2 separate regions of the Homo sapiens genome follow, and region 1 is linked to region 2. The links are contacts of gene promoters, found by promoter capture Hi-C in blood cells and fetal thymus (Javierre and others, 2016). All regions are on one chromosome and are shown on one strand. The core of a region is centred on a gene start or on the middle of the fragment in contact, and the rest is flanking DNA. Distances in the headings are between cores, read along the strand shown. Region 1 overlaps MIPEP (mitochondrial intermediate peptidase). Region 2 holds the start of TNFRSF19 (TNF receptor superfamily member 19).

Region 1 (4,864 bases), core at 1,984-4,483, 260 kb after region 2:
AGAAACTAAATCTTACAATGATGCAGGACAGAAAAATTCTACAATGAAAGCACTAGAATGTTACTGTTCTAAAAATAACACTTAAAGTAGATATGGGGCTTCCATTTTATGAGACACATTGTCAGAAGTTTAGGCGATACATATTGAGGAATTTTTAACGAGAAAATACCTGGAAAAAGAAAATACTCACAATGTTATAATACTGACTTGATCAACTCTAACTGAACTTTAAGGAAATTCTAAGGTGAAACTAATAGATCTATTGCCCCCCTCATTATTATTGTGTGATCTTTGGAAAATTACCTACCCTGGCTGAGTCTAAGGTAGCCAGGGTAAGGAATCACAGTAACTACAGTTAGTCCATACAGTGTGGACAACTAGGTACCAACCATCAACTTCACAGACTGCCAGAAAGGACTAAATAAGAAAAAATTATGAGAGTGAGTATTAACTTCTCTTAACATCGCTTTAAAAATATTCAGTGAGAAAGACAACTAGAGCAGTAAACATTTTAGTGTAGTGGCTAATAGACACAACTATACAAAAAATATCAGGTTCTCTCAAAAATCAATTGGCTATATTTGGTGATTAGTAATGTAGCTGGGGTTGCAAAATTACCAGGAAAAAAAAAAGATTTTAAAACAAGAAACATATAAAGATTAAGAGGATAACATATAAGGAAGAAAGGAATTGTTCATCGGGGAAACTATGCTTTTATGCATCTAATAAAATATTCTCAAAATATAGAGAGCAAAAATGGATAGAACTAAGGGGAAATTATATATCTATCATTCTCATGGTAGAAGACTTATACCTCTAAATTTTTGCTATATCAAAAAATTAGTTATATCAAAGATCTAAACAATACAATTAAAAGGTTGACTTACCAGACTAGTATGAAACCGCAGACCCAACAATTATAAATATACAATCTACTCAAGCACAGATGGAACATTTCTAAAAAACTGATGACACATGAAGCCATAAAATAAATATTAACAAACTGCAAAGAATCAATACCAGATAGACCAATTAATTAGATATCAGAAACAAAAAGATAAATAACTCCCCTGCAAAGGTTTAAAACTTTTAAACTATAGCTCTAAACAAGTCTTTGCTTAAGGAGGAAATTACAATGGAAATTACCAACTTTAAAAATATTTTGTATTAAAATCACAGAATTCAGCTAAAACATTTCATCACATCATTTAATATTTAAAGCATTAAAATTTAAATGCTTATGTTAAATAAAACAGAAACCGAATTAGATAAATGCCTATGAAATCAGAAGAAAAAAACAAGGATGGAGGAAGGAGAGAGTAATAATAAAAGTAGGAAGTAACAAACTGAAACAAACAAAATAGGATAAACAAAGTTTGCATTGGTTCTTTGAAAATACAGTCAGCCCTCCATATCTGAGGGTTGCACATTCATGGATTCAATCAACCATGAGTCAAAAATATTTGGAAAAAAACTGCATCTGTATCGAACATGTACAGACTTTTTTCTTGTCATTATTCCCTAAACAATACAGCATCTATATAGCGTTTACATTGTGTTAGGTATTATAAGTAATCTAGAGATGATTTAAAGTATACAGCAGGATGTACACAGGTTAAATGCAAATACTACACCCTTTCATAAAAGGGACTTGAGCATCCAAGGATTTTGGTAGCCACGTTGGCGGGGAGTAGTGGCCCAGGAACCAATCCTGCTTAGACACTGAGAGATTACAGTGATAAAGTGGACAAAATTCTGCCAAGATTAACAGAGAGAAAAAAATGAGAAAACAGAATTAGAAATTAAAAAGGATACAATTATAGCAGAATTTGAAGGATAAAAGAATGCTATAAGTAACTTTATGTGAATAAGCTGAAGAACTTGGCTCAAATTGATAAATGTCTAGAAAATTTCAAAGTAGCAAAGTTTATCTGAGAAGAAAAGAAAGCCCAAAGAGGCTTATGACTAGTAAGGATTCAGTCATTTAAAAAATCTTCCCACAGAGGAAACAACAGACCCTGAATGGTTTCATAGATGAATTCCGACAGTTTTAAAGAACAAATGATAACAATGTTATAAATAAATGCTTGTAAAGAAAAGAAAAAGAAACACTCACCAACTCATTTTATGAAATAGTATATATTTAAGTGAACACCAGCAAATAATGACAAAGAAAAATCATAAGCAATCCCTCTCTCATAAACATAAATGCAAAAATCAAGAATATAAAAATATTAGTAAACTAGCAAACTATGAGGTGGGTGGATCAACTGGGGTCAGGAGCTCAAGGCCAGCCTGGCCAACATGGTAAAACCCCACCTCTACTAAAATTACAAAAATTAGCCATGTGTGGTGGCACACGCTGTAATCCCAGCTACTCAGGAGGCTGAGGCGGGAGAATCACTTGAACCCAGGAGGTGGAAGTTGCAGTGAGCAGAGACTGCACCACTGCACTCCAGCCTGGGCGATGGAGGGAGACTCTGTCTCAAAAAAATAAATAAATAAAATAATTAGCAAACTAAAGCCAGCTCTGCATTAAAAAATAACTATTATTTAGGACCAAGGTGGCTTAATCCTGAAATGCAAAGGTGGCTAATGTTTAACATTAACATTCACTACATTAACAGATTAAAGGTGAAGAACAATCTGACAGCTCAAAAGATGCAGGAAAAAACTATGATAAAATGCAATACCCATTAATGATTTAAAAAAATAGTAGCAAACTGGAGATAGAAAGGAATTTCCTTTTCCTGATATCTCCAACAAACCTATAACAAACATCTTTCTTTACGGTGACGTATTAAAAACATTTCCTTTAAACACCAGGATCAAGGCAGGAATGCCCATACCACGGCTTTTACTCAACATTAAGGAGGCTCTCATAAGTGGAGTAGAACAAGGTAAACAGAAAAGATACGTGGTTGGAAAGGAAAAATAAAGCTGTCATTATTTTTAGCAGAAGTAATTATCTGGTTAAAAAAGCTTGTAAAAGTCTATAGACAAATTCTGTGAATTAATAAGAAAGTTTAGCAAAGCTGCTGTAAACAAGAGCACTATACAAAAATGGACAAACAGCATTTTTAAACACCAGTAACAAACAATCTGAATATATATACTGCTTATAGTATCAAAAAGGAAGGGCATCCAGGACGAAGCCCAACAAAAGCTGACCAAGGCCCTGGAAGAAAATTTTAAAACTGTATTCAAAGACTTTTGAAAAGACCCAAGAAATGGAGAGATATGCCATATTCATGGATTCAAAGATTCAATATTCAGAGATATCAGTTCTCTCCAAATTGGCCTAGAAATTTAATGTAATCCCAATCAAACTCTTACCAGAATTTTTCAAAAATTAGATAACCTGATTCTAAAATGTATATGAAAGAATACAAAGGTCCAAGAGTAGACAAGAAATTTTGAAGAACAAATCGAGGAAGGCCTATCCTTCCAGATATCAAGGCTTATTATTACTTATTAATAATAGTAAGCTTATTACTATAACTTATTCCAAAGCTCTAGTAATACAGACAGCATGGCTTTGATATTAGGACAGACAGCTTAAACAATGGAATGAAAGAGAATCCCACAAACTGACAATTGCATGTACATGAGTAATGGCACTGAAGAAAGGGTAAATTACTCACTAAATGGTGCTGGGACAGTTTGTTACTCACACGGAAGAAAGTAAAATGGATTCCCGCCTTATGCCAAACCCAGAAAGAATTTCCAACTTGATTAAAAATTGAAAGAGAAAAGAAAGCATTAAAATGTTTAGAAGAAAACTGAAGAGGCTGGGTATGGTGGCTCACGCCTGTAATCCCAAAACTTTGGGAGGCTGAGGTGGGAAGATTGCTTGAGGCCAGGAGTTTGAGACCAGCCTGGGAAACACAGTGAAATCCTGTCTCTATAAAAAATATAAAAATTGGCTGGGCATGGTGGCATGCCTGTAAGCCTGGGCGAAAGAGCAAGACTCTGTCTCAAAAAAAGAAAAAAAATATAAAAACTATTAACTATAAAGACAAGATTGATAAATCCAACAATATTAAAAGGAAAGTGAAAACACAAGCCATAAACTGAGACAAGACATATGCCTAAAAAGGATTATTATTTCAACTACCAAGAATTTCTGAAAATCAGTAAGAAAAAGACAAATTTCCAAGTAGGAAAATGAGCATGAGACAAAAAGACATCTGACAGAAAACAAAAACGAAAAATAAGCCAGGTGTAGTGGCACATGACTGTAGTCCCAGCTACTTGGGTGGCTGAGGCAGGAGGACTGCTTGAACCCAGGAGTTTGAGGGGCCAGCCTGGGCAACCTAGCAAGACCTTATTTCTAAACAAGACAAAACAAAACAGAAAATAAATAAATAAAAAACCTTAAAAGTAATCAGAGAACACTGCTGCTAATTAAGACCTTAAAAGTAATCAGAGAACACTGCTGCTAATTAAGACCACAATAGCATTTCATTTTATAATCACAAAATGGGCAAAATTAAAACTTTTGACAAAATTAAAAGTCAATGAGGATGCTGCACGATAGAAACCATTGCTGAGAGGAGTATAAATTAGCAGAAACATTTTGAAAAACAATTTGGCATTATCTCATAAACTTAAAGACATGCACCCCTTACAAATCCAGCAGTTCCAATCTTATACATGGATATACAGAAGAAAGTATAAAAATGTTCACAGCAGTATCACATGAACTAGCAAAAACCTGGAAGAACCTGTGTGCTCCACGTGTGCTCCATGACAGGAGAATGAGTAAATAAATGATGGAATATTATCTGCAATTGAAATAAATACACTGCAGCTACATGCAACACAGATTAATCTTAGGCATAAAATATATATTTTTTAAATA
Region 2 (4,666 bases), core at 725-3,224:
TCTTGGCCACAAGAGGACCAATTCAAAATAATATCCAGTGACTTGGTGAATAAACTCTTCCACTGGAGATGGTATTGCATTGTTGGATGTATCTTGAACTACAAAGCTTGCTTGGGGAGATTTGTATAAATTGAAGATCATTTGATTGGTTTTCATTCAAGTCCCTGCTTTCAAGTGCCTCCTGTATGTTTTTCAGTGGAACACAAGAACCCGAATTCAGTCCTTCACCTATTTCTACTGGTGTTGAAATCTATAAAGACATAAAATCTACTTGCTTAGCCAATGAGCCTTACAGAGTGTCTAGTTGCTCTGATTTAATATATCAGTGTATCGGGAAACTTTAATCCTGAGTGCAGGCTGTTGGCATATGGATTCCATGCTGGTGGTAGGTTTGGACTACCTCAGAAAAGAAATGGGCACATGCCTTCTTGTAAATATTTTGTCTTTGTAAATATTTTCTTTGTATTCATGGGTTCAAGATGCCCAGGAAACGTATGTGAAGCCCAGATGTCACAGGAATTTTCCTGGTCTGCTTTAAGGAAGTCCTTAAGCATCACACCTGCCAGTTCAAATACTATTTGAGCCCTGTGCATTTTTGAGAAATGATGTATAAGTAGAAAAATTATACAAGAAACATGGAAAAATCAACAGGACTATTTAAATGTTATACAGAACTTATGAACAGTTCAAACTAAATATTTTGCTATTAAAATTATTCAAGAATCATAGAAATCTGGAAATAAACACTTCATAAATAACGTTTTCAAATATCGCGTCAGGAAAAATTAGACAAAACCAGTTAAGGAGGGAAGTTACATTGAAAAAGACTGAGTTCTACTATCCCCTAAGTTTTGCAAAAATATTTTTAACTTACTTTCTAAAAGTTAGTGAGTTTCCATTATAAAATAGAAAAATTGTCTTCATTCCATGAAAGAACTGTCTGAAAATCAGAAAAGCACCATATCCTGGATTTCAAGGAAGATGAAACTTCTTCTTATCTTCTATTTTACTAAATACTCAAAATAAAATAATCATATTGTATTGAATCTGACATTGTTAAGGAAAATAGCTTAAAATTTTTAAATAATGAGCAATATATTTAATTTTAAAATACGAAGAATTAGGCTAAGGTGGTAATTTTTTAGTGAGTTGAAAGTCCAAACTATGAGTTCGGAAGAAACAGCCCTAAAAGGCAAATAACATGGCTTTGGAATAATCACAGGGCAAATGCTTTGTTCTACATAATTCTTCTTTTGTGAATTTTAAAATGCTCAACAAGTATTAATGAAATATGTCTAAGAAGTAGATATTGCTTTAAAATCTAATTTCCAGAGTCCCGAACTAAGGCAAAGATTGAGATTAAGTCTCCGCCCAAAGTCTTAAGTGAGCCAGTGGAAGATGGCAGTTTATTCATGAATTGTTGGTTATCTGCTGCTTAACTACTTAACACAACCCGGTTTGATTGGTAATCAGATCCTAATAATGTATGTTTCAAAGAAAGGGCAGTTTCCTTAAAATCCTTAAAGACTTGTCACTTTGAAAACTGGAATCAAAATGTGAAAATGTTATCGGTCCATCTGGCAGTGTCCTTGGGTGTTTTTTAGAGTGGTCTCATAGTGCTATTTAACTATGCTGAATATTTGACACCCAGTCTCTGTAGGAAATTGTGATTTTTATCAGCGAAGAGGCAATTAAATGCTGTCATTTGGCACGTCCATCCATCAGGGATCTTATCACCCAAGAAGCATCCAGCAGCAGTTGCTGTCCTTTCCAGCTGGCAGACAGATAACAGAAACTGTCCTGTGTGAGGCACAATAGTCTAACATGATTAGAAATCAGCCAAACTCTGGCTTCTCTTGAGCTATACTCCCCCACAGGCTGAATTATAGCTCTCCTACCAGTCCCACGGCGCTGAATGATGTCATGGGATCTGCAGTTCAGCGAGATGAAAGGGATAAAGCAGAACCCGCTGGCACTAGGAAAAGCTTCCAACACACAGTCCACAACACAGCTTGGGAACCAAAAAAGCTACAGATCCAGCCACTCAGCCCAAGCATGGGAGAACTACCAGCATTGCCTCATTGCAAAAAAGAGGAGGAAAACAACGTGATCCATGTTTAACAAAAGAGTCTGTGGACTAGGAGGTGGGAGGGTAACTACCTGCTGAAAGTGAACTTTCTTTGATATCCATGCATATATATAAACTCAGCCCTGCCTTTGATGTTCAGCAACTGATTCACTGATCAGATTACAGGCATTTCATCTCCCTGCTCGTCTGCCTTTGATCTGCATGGTTAATTTTATTTTCCTGGATTTGAAGTTTCGTCTGGGCTTGTGCTGACATACATTTTTGGGAAGGTAGAAGCATTTGGCACAGAAGTGCTGCCAGGAGAAACTAAGTTGCTGAACGGGTAAGTACTGCAAAGAGCTCAGCATGTTGCAGGTACTCTGTTTTAAGCTTTGTTATAGCTTTCACTGCATTTTTCGCATGTGTTCTGAGAAAAGAATGGTTTTAATTAATTTTTTAGAAAGCATTTATACAGCTGAATACTACATGATGCTGAATGTGTGTATCAGAGTAACTATGGAACTTGATGTAATTTTTAGTAGTTTGTACAAGAGGGTTTGCAGTCTGTCATACAAATTTTACTTGGAAATGAGTTGTACAAACAGGACAAAACAGAACAGCGCTCACTTTAGCATGCAACTGGTACTTCAACCCCTGAGATCTGTGAGCTATAATTGCTCTAAGTATTTACAGGTTACCTTATTTAGTAAACAGTCAGTGCAACTTTGCTTGTTGAAAATGCTTTCTTTGTTTTCTTATATAAAAGAGTAAAATGTATCTCTGGCAATACTGTTTCTTTAGTTTATTTATTCTCTCACTTCCAAGATGTAAATCTATCAAATACACTTCCTTATGCAGTTTGTACACTCAAGGGAATCACTGAAAAACCATCAAGTATGATTAAAGACTTTTATGTGTAAAACTGAAGAATTTAAAAACAGTGAGGATAAAGTTGCACTAAGTTTGGCTAAAAATACTCCAGTGATTTTCTATAACCTTTGGAAATAGCATAAGCCTTATTTACAGAAACATTCACAAGGTTAATATTCCTAAATTAACATTTACTTTACATTTATAGTGACAGCTGTTTTAAGTCAAAATTTGCCAACTGTTTATGAAAACTATCTGAGTAATCAACAGTTATTATGTTACATAAAGTATCTTAGTCACATTTTCACTTTAGCTAATGCCCAACATGACAAAACCAAATTATATTGCTGTACCGAATTTGAAAGTTAACTGTTATTTTTTTGTCAGTTCATGATACACACACACTCACGCTCACACACACACACAGTAAAATCTTTACAGTGAAATATAAAAACTAAATACAATGGAAAAGTAACACTGTTACTTTGTTCGCGATGTTTTTTTTTTTAATGTTCTAGTCCTAAATTTATCTGGGCAAAATATTTAATTATTATCACAAGTCTATTTGATGCTAGCTGAACCATAAAGAAACCATAAGTGATAAGACCAGTTATCCTTTAGTCTGAAATTCTGATGAAACAGGAAAGGTCTAATGAGTCTCATTTCATAAGTAATTAATTTTTCACAGCCAATTAATTAAATTACTTTCTACACTTTCCTCTTGATACTAGAAGGGTAATTAGCATTGTTTATTTAATTTTAAAACTTTGCTAGTTGTTAAGTGGAGGTTATTTAAAGCCATGCTAAACTGATTATATTTTTAAAGTGTGTCATTAATAACTTAATCTTAAAGATTTAACTGCTGTTTTTAGTCATGCCAGGAGAGGCATTTGCTTTTTTTTTCTAAGAGTACAACAAATCATGTTCACAATATCCTGCAATATCGGTTTAGTTTGATTTTTTTTTAATTTGTTTGCTTAAAATCTTCCTTTTAATCACAAAAGTGGTATTAATGTTCACATTCAGATAAAGAAAATTAGCCTTTTAAAACAATGACTGGAGATGGTGCCTAAAGAAATAGTGTGTCTGAAACTTGCTCATTTAGTTCAGATTTGGATTTTAAAATTTTTAAAATGACTGTTTATCCTGCTACTAGGATCATTTTAACAAATACAGGCTCTCCTCAGCACAAAACAAAGGGGAGAATTAGCAATTATCTGATTAATTTAGGCTTTGTAGAAAACTAGCTTGGGCAAGTCAAGTCCTTGAAAATCCACTTCAGTGTTTGAATTAATTCAGTTAATTGTTTACTTCTAGTGTCATTGTTGAGAAATGAAATAGAGTGTATTTGATTTTAAAATAAAGATGGTTGTATCTGAAGGTACAGGTACAGTCTCAAAAGGCATTTCCTAATTAATTGCCACAAAATGACTTTGGCAGATATAGTCCTATTACTTCTACTGAACAAAACCCTTATGTGACATTTTTCAAAGCACTTTCCTATCTGTTGCTTCAATGGCAGCTTTGTTACTACAGAAAGTCCAAGTCTTCAAAAGACTTTTATGTTGAGTCCTGATACTGTCACCAATTAGCTATATGACCTCAAGAGAGTTTCCTCATGTGTGAAGTGAGGGAGTTGATCACATCATCTTTATGAAATAAGCAGAATTGGAATTTTTATGGCCATTTTACAGATGAGGAAACTGAGGCTATAGAAAACGAATGTCC

What was found. The method cuts DNA at HindIII sites, captures the fragments that hold promoters and counts their contacts. A CHiCAGO score of 5 or more calls a contact.
Region 1: a contact is called between a fragment that was not itself captured here and the fragment with the promoter of TNFRSF19 in region 2, in 6 of 17 cell types (M2 macrophages, M0 macrophages, fetal thymus and 3 more). The highest score is 7.4, in M2 macrophages.

Annotation. Positions count from the first base shown.
Region 1 is chr13:23,825,444-23,830,307 of GRCh38, forward strand. The region is part of intron 14 of MIPEP (mitochondrial intermediate peptidase); the gene reads right to left. Among named protein-coding and RNA genes, the nearest start is that of PCOTH, 61 kb to the right of the region's middle. The HindIII fragment of the contact is 506 bases long and covers 2,981-3,486 here.
Region 2 is chr13:23,568,438-23,573,103 of GRCh38, forward strand. TNFRSF19 (TNF receptor superfamily member 19) reads left to right here and starts at 1,975. Exons shown (of 10, transcript NM_148957.4): 1 at 1,975-2,411. RefSeq lists an enhancer at 1-410. The HindIII fragment of the contact is 1,879 bases long and covers 105-1,983 here.